3 separate regions of the Homo sapiens genome follow, and regions 2 and 3 are each linked to region 1. The links are contacts of gene promoters, found by promoter capture Hi-C in blood cells and fetal thymus (Javierre and others, 2016). All regions are on one chromosome and are shown on one strand. Each heading gives the region's core, a stretch centred on a gene start or on the middle of the fragment in contact. The rest is flanking DNA. Distances are from core to core; before and after follow the strand shown. Region 1 holds the start of TMEM183A (transmembrane protein 183A). Region 2 overlaps ATP2B4 (ATPase plasma membrane Ca2+ transporting 4). Region 3 overlaps UBE2T (ubiquitin conjugating enzyme E2 T).

Region 1 (4,309 bases), core at 1,012-3,511:
CTCTTCAGCTTCAATTTTAATTCCTAATTGATTCAAGCCTATTAGCAAGATCCCTGGTGGTAGTCTGTTACATAATGTTAGTAAAAGGCCTGAGGTTTTTCTCCTAACAAACTTGGTGCCAGCTCGTTAGACTGAAAATAAGATACTCTCTGGTAGATCCAGCGGATTGGATGCCTGGGTCCTAAGTTTCCCAAGCCAGGGATTATCACCTTTTAGGAGCTGCAAGGAAGTTAGAAGGATAAAGGAGAATAACTTAGGAAACCAAATAACTTCTTATGTGTCGCGGTGATACTTTTCTTTTTTTTTTAATTTATTTATTTATTTACTTTTCATGCGCGTCTGTGTGAAGAGACCACCAAACAGGCTTTGTGTGAGCAATAAAGCTCTTAATCACCTGGGTGCAGGCGGGCTGAGTCGGAAAAGAGAGTCAGTGAAGGGAGATAAGGGTGGGGCCGTTTTATAGGATTTGGGTAGATAAAGGAAAATTGCAGTCAAAGGGGATTTGTTCTCTGGTGGGCAGGAGTGGGGGTCGCAAGGTGCTCAGTGGGGGAGCTTTTTGAGCCAGGAAAAGGACTTTCACAAGGTAATGTCATCACTTAAGGAAGGACTGGCCATTTTCACTTCTTTTGTGGTGGAATGTCATCAGTTAAGGCGGGGCAGGGCATTTTCACTTTTGTGATTCTTCAGTTACTTCAGGCCATCTGGGCGTACACGTGCAAGTCACCAGGGATGCGGTGGCGTGGCTTGGGCTCAGAGGCCTGATAATACTAGCCCAGGGTCCTGCTCCCTTACAGTTCTGTAATCTTCACTCAGTGACTCGCTTCTGTCTCAATACAAAGGAAAGACGTTATTTTTTCTTTTTCTCCTTTTTTTTTTTTTGAGGCAGGGTATCGCTCTGTAGCCCAGGCTGGAGTGCAGTGGCGCAATCATGGCCCACTGCAGCCTTGACCTCCTGGACTCAAGTGACCTTCCTGCCTCTGCGATAGTTTTTCATGGATGCTTCTAGTAGTTTTTTGGAGGTATGGTGTGTTAGGAACAAACTGCCCCAAAAAGCTTCTTGGTACTGCCGACACTTCCCCCAAACCTCTCCGTGCTGCTCACTCCTCCCCCTAATGCTCTGCAACTCTTCTCCTTCCCCCAAGCCTCTTTACACTTCTAAGTCCTTATGAAGCCAGCAGACTTCACTTATCAGACCTTGCTGCAATAAACAAACCCCAATTACAAATCATCCGGACCGCACAGGGGAAGGTGATGGGAAGCATAAACAAACTTTACCTACACCCTCCTGTAATAAACGTCACAAGCTAATATGTGGCAAAATTAACCAGCAAACAACCCCAGGGTCTCTCTCCCCCATATAAACCCCTCATTTTGTAAGCTCAGGGGTGCCTCCTCTGTCTGTGGTGGAGCAGCCGTCAGGTTAATAAACTTCCTCGGCTGACCTTGGGTCTCTCTTTCGTCCTTTCTCTCGGCTAACCTTATATGGTGATAGATTGGAAACTTTTTTTTTTTTGAGACGGAGTCTTGCTCTGTCGCCCAGGCTGGAGTGCAGTGACCCGATCTCAGCTCACTGCAAGCTCCGCCTCCCGGGTTCATGCCATTCTTCCGCCTCAGCCTCCCGAGTAGCTGGGACTACAGGCGCCCGCCACCACGCCCGGCTAATATTTTGTATTTTTAGTAGAGACGGGGTTTCACCGTGTTAGCCAGGATGGTCTCGATCTCCTGACCTCGTGATCCGCCCGCCTCGGCCTTCCAAAGTACTGGGATTAGGGGCGTGAGCCACCGCGCCCGGCCGATTGGAAGCTTTTAAGAACTCCTTCTCCTATTTTGAGAATTCAGAAATTTATTTATAGCTTTCGTAAAATAGAGTGAAGACTCTTACAGACCTATGTTAGACTAGCAGGCGCTCAGTCTCTGTGGTCCGAGATAGAGCACGAAGATGACAGTGTATATGCATTTTGGTGCTGAAGTGGACCTGGAGTGTGGACAGAGGAGTTACTAAGAAGAATCCCGGAGACCAGGATGTAAACTCTCAATTCTAATCAACACAGGTGTGGGCTATGGTTCTGAGACACCATTCATCTCACACGAGGTACGGCGATACGCGACACCACCCAGTACAACAGCTCTCTCTCCACCTGGAACCCGGACCCAGCTTGATTCGCGGGTGCCGGATGATGACGTATCCTTGCACCTGGCGATGATTGGTTCGCGTGGAGAGGCGTCGTCCGACAACGCGACTCGGAACCCGGACCTATGTTCTCGCGAGAGTTAGCGGCCTCCGGTGTGGGATGGCCGCGGAGCCGGGCGGAGCTGGCTTGCGGCTCCCGGGGCCGGCTCTCCGGCCGGAGACATGGCCCGGGGGCCCGGCCCGCTAGGCAGGCCTCGCCCCGATACGGTCGCCATGCCCAAGAGAGGAAAGCGACTCAAGTTCCGGGCCCACGACGCCTGCTCCGGCCGAGGTGGGCGAGGGGGGCAGGGGCGCTGAAACATTTTGGGGGCTGGCGGCTGGGAGGGGGCTGGACCGTGCCGAGGTGAGCGCTCGCGTGCCCGCGGCTGGAGGGCGGCTCGGTCCGGGGGCCTGCAGCGAGGAGGAGGTGTTGGCGGGGAAGACGCTGACGAGAGAAGGCCTCTTCCTTGAGGGTTGGTGCTGTGTTGCAGTGACCGTGGCGGATTACGCCAACTCGGATCCGGCGGTCGTGAGGTCTGGACGAGTCAAGAAAGCCGTAGCCAACGCTGTTCAGCAGGAAGGTAAGCTTTGCGCGAGCCTTTAAAGACTCATGCCGCGAAGACAGAACTAGGTATTTTATTTCTGTTTTTCTTGCAGTCCTTTAGTCGTCTTCCTGTAACCGTGTTTGCTTTCGTTAGTGTTAACTTACATATTGGGGTGGAGGAGGATTAGTCAAGAGTAGCAGTTTCTGTAGCAGAAATATTTTCTTTCTTTCTTTGCATTTAAAAACATGTTTGCATACTTTTTAGTTTCCACTGCATTCTTCTTGGTTATTAATCTCTTTGCTGTAGTTCACATGTTTTACTCTGCAGTTTGCTTCCTTGTTTAATAACCTTGGAGTGTTCTTTTCCTTTTCTGGTGTTTCTCTTGCTTTCAGTCTGTTTACTCATGGGTCTGAGACTTGTGTTTTATGACACCTACTGCCTCCAGCTCAGGACCAGGATTAAATTGGATTCAATTTGTCTCAAACATTTCTCTGTAGACCTTATGAGAATACAAATCAGCTTTTATCCTGCAGGGTTTATAGTGGAAAAATTGTACACACCTTTTTTCTTCAGGGCTGAAAAAAGGAGTTTCTGCAACTTTGGAGTCAGTTTGCCCATTGCTTTCCTTTTTTTTTTTTTTTTTTGTATTTAAAATACTAAAATCTTTATTTTTTTTGGTGACAGATTCTCACCTTTCTCTCTCAACGATGTTTTTTTTCCCCCCTTTCCTGAATGGATGCTGATACCTTGGCTAAGTTGTTTGTATTTCTGGGTGGAGCTGTGTGCCATCTCATTCTCCTTTTATTTTCTTCTAGTAAAATCTCTTTGTGGCTTGGAAGCCTCTCAGGTTCCTGCAGAGGAAGCTCTTTCTGGGGCTGGTGAGCCCTGTGACATCATCGACAGCAGTGATGAGATGGATGCCCAGGAGGAAAGCATCCATGAGAGAACTGTCTCCAGAAAAAAGAAAAGCAAGAGACACAAAGGTATGGAGCTTGTTCTCTTTTGGTTTATTAGACCTGCCTGTGGTGACAAATTGAAGATGTTACTTTCCCAGTAGCACAGGAGGAGATATAAGACGTGATACCAGGAGAGTTTAAAGAAAACTTGGCTCTCCCTAAGAACCTTGGTAGTGGGCCGGGATTTAATACACCTGGGCTTTCTTTTTTCTTTTGTCTGAATTCGAGAGGGAAAGAGATTAGTACGTGTTAGTAGAGTTCTGGAGCTGTGAACTGGACTCTAGTAGCCCTTCATTGAGAACATGTTATTATCAGGTAAAAACCCATAAGGCAATGTGAAAATAAAAGGCCTTTGCATTTCTGGATTTCTGAATGTGTAAGGAAGCAGAGATGTAACCAAAAAATGTTTTCCAAAGTATGTGGATTTTACGTTAACTAGTTTTGTTACACACAAACATAGACATTATCGTGGGCTTTTAAGTGCTCTGCAATTAGTAATGTCTGCTTTATGTCTAATAAGTATTGTGGGAAATAGAAAAGTAGGTGATTTTTTTATATCCTAATGGCAATGAAATGTACACAAATGAAACAAAGAATAATAAACTGATGATAATATAACGTGCCAAACCATCATTCAG
Region 2 (4,309 bases), core at 885-3,384, 670 kb after region 1:
CCTGGCCTCGGAGCAGTGGGCAGGCGCTCCCTGAGAGGTGTTATGGAGGCGGTGAGCCTGGTGCTTCTTCTGGAACCGTGGGGGATGGCAGGGGAACGGCAGCCTGGGTTCCAGAGGCAACCAGGGGCAGTAATGTTTTGGGAGCCAAAGTGAGCAGCGAATGTCTTTTGTTTTTGTTTTCCCCTCATCTGTGTATGGGCCCCAGCATCGCTCATCTCCTGTGGAGATAGAAGACAGGGCTGGGAGGGGATTTGCTCCACTGGAACCTGAAAGGGGCCTGGGTGTCCCTCTGAACCTCACGAGGTGGCTTGTTTTAACTTTTCGAATAGACCTTGGCTTCTGTTGTAGCCTGTTGAGTGACATCCTCTCAAGTCTGTTTTCTCAAAGACTAAAAAAATGTGGGCTTTTTCAGGGCTCTGTCTGGGAAAGGGGGCTGCCCAGAGATAAATGGAAGCAGAGATCAGCAACCTGGAAGGACTAGCAGAGGGAGAGGGAAGAGTGAAGGAGACACATGGCAAGATCTTCCTGTGCCTTCCCATGTCAGCCTGGAGCTGAAGGGGTTCATGGGAATGCTTTGGAACCTCGCAACATTTTCAAAGTGTGGTCCCCAGACCAGATGCATCAGCTCACCCTGTTAAGGAACTTGTTAGGAGTGCACCTTCCCAGGCCCCACCTCCGTTCTTGTGCACCAGAAACTCAGGAGTTGGCAGGGAGGGGCCCAATAGGTTTGCCCCAGTTCTCCAGAGGATCCTAGTGCTCACTCTGGGTTTGAGAACCACAGCTCTAAAACATTACTCAAGTGCAAGGAAGCATGATCAGTTCGCTTTCCAAAGGCCTAGGCTGACTGAATGGATCCTGTCTGTGCAATATGTGAACAAGGAAGAATAAAACAGGCGCAGAGGGGTGGCAGGTTATTAGCGATCATTCCTGGCCACCTTTTTTAATAAGCACTGTCTTTTCAGCATGGAGCCCTCGCTGATTTGCCTGTGACTTCCAGGAAATAAGCCCAGAGAAGGCTGGAATAGGTAAAGCGGGGATGGGAGGTTCTCTGTACTCTGTACAGGTGAGACTGTCAGAGTGGAGAAAGGGAATGGGAGCAGCCAGGCCTGATGACCAGTATGGGACATGCTGACTAGTATCTGGGCCACACAGGAATGTTGTTTTAAGTCCTCTCCTGCTGAGCGTCTGGGGACAGAGCAGCTGCCCCTGGTGCTCCCTTTTGGTGGATGAGATGTGGCCTCCTCAGTCTGTGGCCAGGCAACTTCTTCCCCCTTGTCCTGAGGACTCCACCAGATCCTGAGGCCTGGGAACAACCAGGTCCCGACCCGGTAGCCCAGGGAGATGACCCCTCTCCATAAGCATGACATGATTCTGCTGAAATTCGTTTCTAAAAATAACCTAGGATCCGATCCAGCTGCTAAAAAGCCCCTTTGTTCCCTTGAAACCAAAATATGGAAAGCCACAGCAGCCCCAAGAAAGACAGTCTGTGTAGTCCAAGAGAGTGCATATACGAAATACTTGAATGCTGCTGCCGGAGGGCTGCGTCCTGTCTGTGGCCTAGAAGCTTCCTGCCGCAGCTCTGAGGAGTGAGTAGCAGTTATCGTTGCTAACCCTTATCCTGAGTGAACGGGGTCAGGAGAGGCTGCCAGTACCCCTTTTGTTAAACAGACCTTCCAGATGGCATTGTCACTTCCACCTGAAGGTGGCTCTTGTCCTCCTTAAACAACTGAAGGAAATGGTGAGCGCTGCTGTTTCATCCTCTACATTTTTTTGAGCTCTAGCTTGCTGTGAACACCCCTACCTCCACCCCATACATCCTCTGAGTCACTGGAGGACACAGAGGTGACCCAGGCCAGTGTGACTCACACAATTTGAAAGAGGTTGGCTTTCCCAAGGCTCTGGGCCTAAGGGACTGCCCTTTCTCATCTTGATAATTTTTTTTGAGATGGAGTTTTACTCTGTTACCCAGGCTGGAATGCAGTGGCACGATCTCAGCTCACTGCAACCTCTGCCTCCAAGGTTCAAGTGATTCTCCTGTCTCAGCCTTCTGTGCAGCTGGGATCACAGGCGTGCAACACCACACCTGGCTTTTTTTTTTTTTTTTTTTTTTTTTTTTTTTTTTTCTGAGATGGGGTCTCACTGTGTCTCCCAGGCTGGAGTGCAATGGCACAGTCTTGGCTCACTGCAACCTCCATCTCCCGGGTTCAAGCAACTCTTCTGCCTCAGCCTCCTGAGTAGCTGGGACTACAGGCACGTGCCACCACACCTGGCTAATTTTTTGTATTTTTAGTAGAGACGGGGTTTCACCATGTTAGCCAGGATGGAATTTTTATATTTTTAGTAGAGACGGGGTTTCGCCATGTTGGCCAGGCTGGTCTCAAACTCCTGACCTCAGGTGATCTGCCCACCTTGGCCTCCCAAAGTGCTGGGATTACAGGCATGAGCCACTGCGCCTGGCCTCATCTTAATAATACTGATGCCATTTCAAGATGGAGCCAGTGGCCAGGGGTCAGGGGGACAGCCGTGCCCTCCCAGGCACATTCCTGCTTCCTCCCACCACACTGTTTCCCTACCCATGCCCTGGAGCTTTCTGTCTTCATCTTGGTGGTTCTTAAAACCTGTGACATGGGTTGGATCTTAGCAGACCAGGTGATCAGGATCAGGCTGTCAACCTTGGGTCAATTCTTGGTATCGCTGTTTGGAGAAAGCTTTTGTCATCTATGGGTCCTACCTTCTCCCTGCCTTCTGAAGGCATCTGACCAGAACTGGTAAGTTTTGCCACCATTATCACTGCACAGCATATCCTAGACAACACAGCCACTCCAAGACTGAGAGGTATTTTATTTTTATTTTTTGGATCTCAGATCACCACAGATAATGTTCCAGTGAACATCCTTGCACATGCCCCCTCCAGGCCCTGGATGAGGATTTCTTTGGAAGATGTAGCCAGGACTAGATGACTGGGTCCACAGCATGCATAGATGTAGTTTGACCAAAAAGCACCAAGTGATTCTGGGGAGGAGGGATGAATTCTGGATTCCTGAGACCCAGGGGCTACGAGTGACACGTTTTCTCCGATTAGATGCTTTGACTCTAGTACTACCTTTTTTGGTGGAATTGAAGAAGGTGCTGTCAGAGTAGCAGACTTGGAGAGGGGGAAGTAAGTGAGGGAGGCCCGTGGATACCACCTCCTAACCAGGAAGTGGCGTTCTATCTTCAGAAAGAGAGAACTGAGCCTGCGAGTGACATCCTCTCAAGTCTGTTTTCTCAAAAACTAAAAGGATGTGGGCTTTCCTTGGGTCTCTGGGAAAGGGGGCTGTCCTGAGATGACTGGAAGCAGAGACTAGCAACCTGGAAGGACTATAGGGGGGAGAGGGAAGAGCAAAGGAGACATGAACCAGAACCCAGAACTTCAGGAAGGGAGTACCCCACCCCCAGGAGGCTAAGTTCTAGGGGCTAGCTGAAAATTAGCATCAGATTCCCTGACCAGGCCATGGTATACTATCCCATGGTGAGGCCAGAGGCCTGGCTTGGTGTGCCCGCCCTCACCTGGCTTCCTGGCTTGGGTGTGGCTGTCGGATGATGATGACAAGTGGTCCCACCCGCCACCTGAACTTTAGCCAACACCTGCTGCCTCTGACCTTGTTCCCATGCCTCCAAAGGGCCTCAGTAGGCTGAAGGAGGGCATGTGCTCTAGTCTGCTTCTGCAAACCAGTTGGCATTTAAGGAGCAATTAGGGCAGGGCAGACATGGGGAGGGGAGGAAGAACCCGGGATTGTGATGAGGATGGCTGCCAGACCTGAGGGATTGGAAGTGGCCAGGGTGAACTAGAATCTGGGTCATGGAAATAAGGAGCCTGTGATAAGGAGGCGGGCAGAACAGCCTCTGCCTGAGATTCACACCTCCGGAGAGAAGGGCTAGCCAGGGATGTTTTAGGCTAGGCAGCCTACCATGGTCAGGTTCTTGCCAGCTTTCTTGATAGGGCACTGTCCTTTGGAAGCGTAAGAGTGCCAGAGAGAAGGAGTAGAGCTTAAACCCCCCAAGGTGGTGCACAGGAAACAGCCCTGCTGGAAACAAGAGAGAGAATGCAGAGCAGGTTCTCCCTCTGTGCTTCTCCCAGATCACCAGGGGGAGCAAGGCCAAGAGCATGAGACGACTGAGTGGAGGAAGCCCTCATCCCCACCACTGGGCTCTCCAGGCAGGAATTGGATATGCTTGGACTCACAGCAATCTAGAGCCCAGTGCTTTCTGGCTTGGGGTGGGGGTGGGGTGAGGGGAGGGGAGGACAAGGGGGAAGGGAGGGTGTCTG
Region 3 (4,309 bases), core at 752-3,251, 670 kb before region 1:
GGTTTTAAATAATGGGTGTTTCCACTGATAAATTATAAACTCATGAGGCCAGGCCTGGGTCTGATTTTGCTTACTATTGTAGCCTTAGCATGCCTGTCATAGTAAGGGATTTGACAAATATTTGCTGTTGTGAGGAAGTCTACATATGCTTTGTGAGAGCAAGAATGGTAGAGATAGTCAACATTCTCAGGTACAAACAAATGTTAAATGTCCGAGTTTCTCTCCATGTGCTATGGATTCCACCTTCTCCCAATCTTCAGGGATACCATTCCATCAATTATTCCATCTTTCTTACCCTCAATGTTCAAATATGCTCAAAGTCTCTCTCACCTAAAACCAACACCTACACACATATTCACCCAACACTCTTCTCAACTCTAGTTCTCTCTTTACTAACCAAGCAAAGGACACTAATCCCTTTTGTTTTTTAGACGGAGTCTCGGTCTGTTGCCCAGGCTGGAGTGCAGTGGTGCGATCTCGGCTCACTGCAACCTCAGCCTTCCGGGTTCAAGCAATTCTCTGCCTCAGCCTCCCGAGCAGCTGGCATTACAGACGCCCGCCACCACGCCCGGCTACTTTTTGTATTTTTAGTAGAGATGGGGTTTCACCATCTTGGCCAGGCTGGTCTTGAACTCCTGACCTCGTGATCCACCCACCTCAGCCTCCCAAAGTGCTAGGATTACAGGCGTGAGCCACCGCGCCCAGCCAACACCAATCCTTTAATGTGTTACAAATATCCCCCAGTTTGTGCTTATCTTTCCATGTTGTACATGGTGTCTTTCAATAAACACATACTCTTAACATAATCAATCTTAAAATCTCTTTCTTTACATTTATACTTTGTGTATTAAATTTTTCCTTACCCCCAAATGTAGAGATATTCCTACATAGCCTTCAAATATTTTATAATTTTGCTATTCAAATTTAAATATTGAATCCACTAGGAATTGAATTTTATGTATAGTGAGTGAGGTGGGGGTCCAATTTAAAGTTTTTCCCCATATGAATAGTCAATTGTTCTAACATCATTTACTGAATCAGTCCATCCTTTCCCTGCTGATATTACTATAAATTAAATTTCTATATGTGTGGATTTGTTTTGGGACTCTTGAATTTGTTCCACTGGTCAAGTGGATTATTTCTGAGACAATACTCCACTGTTTGAATTACTATAGCTTATTCATTTTTTATTATTTAAATTTTTTCCCAGCTTTACTGAGGTATAACTGGCAAATACAAATTGTATATATTTAAGGTGTACAATGTGATGTTTTACTATAGCTTATCCACCTGGTCTTTTTCTTCAGGAATGACTTGATTATTCTTGACTCTTTGCTCTTCCATATAAATTTGAGAATCAGTTCATAAGTCCATAAATATATACATAAATATGTATATCTGAAATTATAATCCAAATCATAACAGGGTTCTGTGGTTTGGATTGTAATTTTATTGATGCTATAGATCAATTTGGAGATAACTGATATCTTTATGATATTGAATCCTAAGATCCATGAACACGCTGTTTCAGTCTTTTTTTTGATGCTTTCCAAAGGTTTTATAATTTTCTCTATAAAGCTTTATCTAATTTTTGTTAGACTGATTTCTAAGTATTTATATTTTTGCTATCTTTTCAAAAACACTATTTTCTACCCATTTCTTACTGATACATGTAAATCTAATTGATTTTTTTTTATTTTTTTGAGATGGAGTTTTGCTCTTGTTGCCCAGGCTGGAGTGCAATGGTGTGCTCTTGGCTCACCGCAATCTCCACCTCCTGGGTTCAAGCGATTCTCCTGTCTCAGCCTCCTGAGTAGCTGGCGTTACAGGCATGCACCATTAGGCCCAGGTAATATTGTATTTTTTTAGTAAAGACAGGGTTTCTCCATGTTAGTGAGGCTGGTCTCGAACCACGGACCTCAGGTAATCCACCCATCTCAGCCTCTCAAAGTGCTGGGATTACAGGCATGAGCCACCTCGCCCAGCCAATCTAACTGATTTTTAACCAAAGCCTTAGTAATGCTAATGATGAATCTATTTGGGGTGGGGAGCAGTCTGGGAATGGTAATTCCACACTGCCAATCATGTCATCCACATATAATCAAGTTTATTTCTTCCCTTCTAATTCTTTTCCTGCCTTCTATTCTGACAGTAACTTCTAGTACAATGTTAAATGAAAAAGCTGATAGCTGGGCCAAGCATGCTGGCATGAGCCTGTAATCCCAGCTACTCAGGAGGCTAAGGTGGGAGGATGACCTGAGCCCGGGGAGACTGAGGCTGTAGTGAGCCATGATTGTGCCACTGCACTCCAGCCTGGGAGGCAGAGTGAGACCCTGTCTAAACAACAGCCAAAAAAAAAAAAGAAAAAAGAAAGAAAGAAAAGCTGATAGTTGGCATTCTTGTCAGATTTCTAACCTTAAAGGGAAAGCTTTTAACACTATGCTAATCAGTAAGACTGGCCTATAACTGTCCTTTCTAATTTTGTCTTTATTAGCTATCAAGGTTATGCTAGCCTCCTAAAATGAGTTAGGGAGTATTGCCTCCTTTTTTTTTTTTTTTTTTTTTTTAACATATTGTGGATTAGTCCAAGAGATAATTTGTTACTAGGTTGTCTGGAATAACTCCATCTGATCCTGGTGTTTTCATTTTGAGAAAATTTTAACCTACAAATCCAATTTACTTGAATCTTATTCAAGTTATTTATTCTTGCATCAATTTTGGCAAGTTAAATTTTTCCACAAATTTATCTATTACATGCAATTTTCAATTTATTTGTATAATGTTTTATCTTTTTAATCTGTAGTTATCTATGGTTATGTTTCCATTTTCATTTCTAACACTGTTTATCTGTGCCATCTTTTCTTTGATCAGTCTTGCTGGGCATGTATCAACCAAAAGGAAGTTCAAGTTTTGGTTCCACTGGAAAGAATAAAAATTTATGACAAAAATAGAAAATGAGAAAAAATACTTTTTTCTTAAAAATAAAGATTTTTTGCTGGAAGTGTTTTGTACTTCAAGATCACGCCACTGCACCCCAGCCTGGGCGATAGATTAGGACTCTGTCTCAAAAAAAAAAAAAAAAAAAAAAACATCTTCGTCCAAACACGTACTATACATTTTTTCTTGTCATTATTCCCTAAACAATACAGTGTAACAACAATTTACTTAGCATTTTATTAGGTATTATAAGTAATCAAGAAATAATTCAAAGTATATGGGGGTGGGGCTGGGCACGGTGGCTCACACCTGTAATTGCAGCACTTTGGGAGATCAAGGCAGAAGGATCACTTGAGGCCAGGGGTTCAAGACCAGCCTGTGCAACAAAGGAGAACCCCATCTCTAAAATAAATAAAGTATATGGGAGGACATGCAGAGGTTCAAGACCAGCTTGTGAGGCCTGGCACAGTGGCTCACGCCTGTAATCCCAGCACTTTGGGAGGCTGAGGCAGGTGGATCACTTGAGATCGGGAGTTCCAGACCAGCCTGGCCAACATGGGGAAATCCCCTCTCTACTAAAAATATAAAAATTAGCCAGCTGCGGGGGTGGAGGCCTGTAATCCCAGCTACTCAGGAGGCTGAGGCAGGAGAAAGGCTTGAACTCAGAAGGTGGAGGTTACAGTGGGCTGAGATCGCGCCACTGTACTCCAGCCTGGGCGACAGAGCAAGACTCTGTCTCAAAAACAAAACAAAACAAAACTGGCCAGGCATGGTGGCTCACACCTGTAATCCCAGCACTTTGGTAGGCCAAGGTGGGTGGGTCATTTGAGGTCAGGAGTTTGAGACCAGCCTGGCCAACATGAGGAAACCCCATCTCTATTAAAAATACAAAAATTAGCAAAGTGTGGTGGTGCACGCCTGTAATCCCAGCTACTTGGAAGGCTGAGGCAGGAGAATGGCTTCAACCAGGAAGGCGGAGGTTGCAGTGAGCCAAGATCGCGCCACTGCACTCCAGCCTGGGTGGCAGAGCGAGACCCTTTCTTAAAAAAAAAAAAAAGAAAAAAAGAACCAGCCTGTGCAACAAAGGATATCCCCATCTCTTAAATATAAAGTATATGGGAGGACATGCATAGGTTATATGCAAATACTACACCATTTTATATCTGGGACTTGACCTTTGGTGGATTTGGGATCTGCAGGATGTCCTGGAACCATCCCTCATGGATACAGAGGGTTGACTGTACAGTAAAAGTATCACAAGTATAAAGTATACCTTTATATAAAATGAGAACAGTGGAAAGCCATGGTAAAAGGATTAGAACAAGCAAGACAATTTCTCCCAAGGAAGCAACCAGACTCCAGCCTCACTATG

Evidence for each region. Contacts are between HindIII fragments. The CHiCAGO score rates a contact against its expected background, and 5 or more counts as called.
Region 2: a contact is called between a fragment that was not itself captured here and the fragment with the promoter of TMEM183A in region 1, in 1 of 17 cell types (fetal thymus). The highest score is 6.0, in fetal thymus.
Region 3: a contact is called between a fragment that was not itself captured here and the fragment with the promoter of TMEM183A in region 1, in 2 of 17 cell types (total CD8 T cells and naive CD8 T cells). The highest score is 7.3, in total CD8 T cells.

Annotation. Positions count from the first base shown.
Region 1 is chr1:203,005,113-203,009,421 of GRCh38, forward strand. TMEM183A (transmembrane protein 183A) reads left to right here and starts at 2,262. Exons shown (of 8, transcript NM_138391.6): 1 at 2,262-2,462; 2 at 2,662-2,751; 3 at 3,531-3,698. The coding sequence starts at 2,354. It also overlaps the pseudogene MGAT4FP. RefSeq lists enhancers at 65-839, 1,481-1,610, 1,614-2,388, 2,389-3,161, a cis regulatory region at 591-940 and a silencer at 2,321-2,570. The HindIII fragment of the contact is 953 bases long and covers 1,802-2,754 here.
Region 2 is chr1:203,672,550-203,676,858 of GRCh38, forward strand. All of the region lies in intron 1 of ATP2B4 (ATPase plasma membrane Ca2+ transporting 4), which reads left to right. Among named protein-coding and RNA genes, the nearest start is that of ATP2B4, 48 kb to the left of the region's middle. The HindIII fragment of the contact is 1,144 bases long and covers 1,563-2,706 here.
Region 3 is chr1:202,336,534-202,340,842 of GRCh38, forward strand. All of the region lies in intron 1 of UBE2T (ubiquitin conjugating enzyme E2 T), which reads right to left. Among named protein-coding and RNA genes, the nearest start is that of UBE2T, 3.2 kb to the right of the region's middle. RefSeq lists enhancers at 8-532, 533-1,056. The HindIII fragment of the contact is 850 bases long and covers 1,577-2,426 here.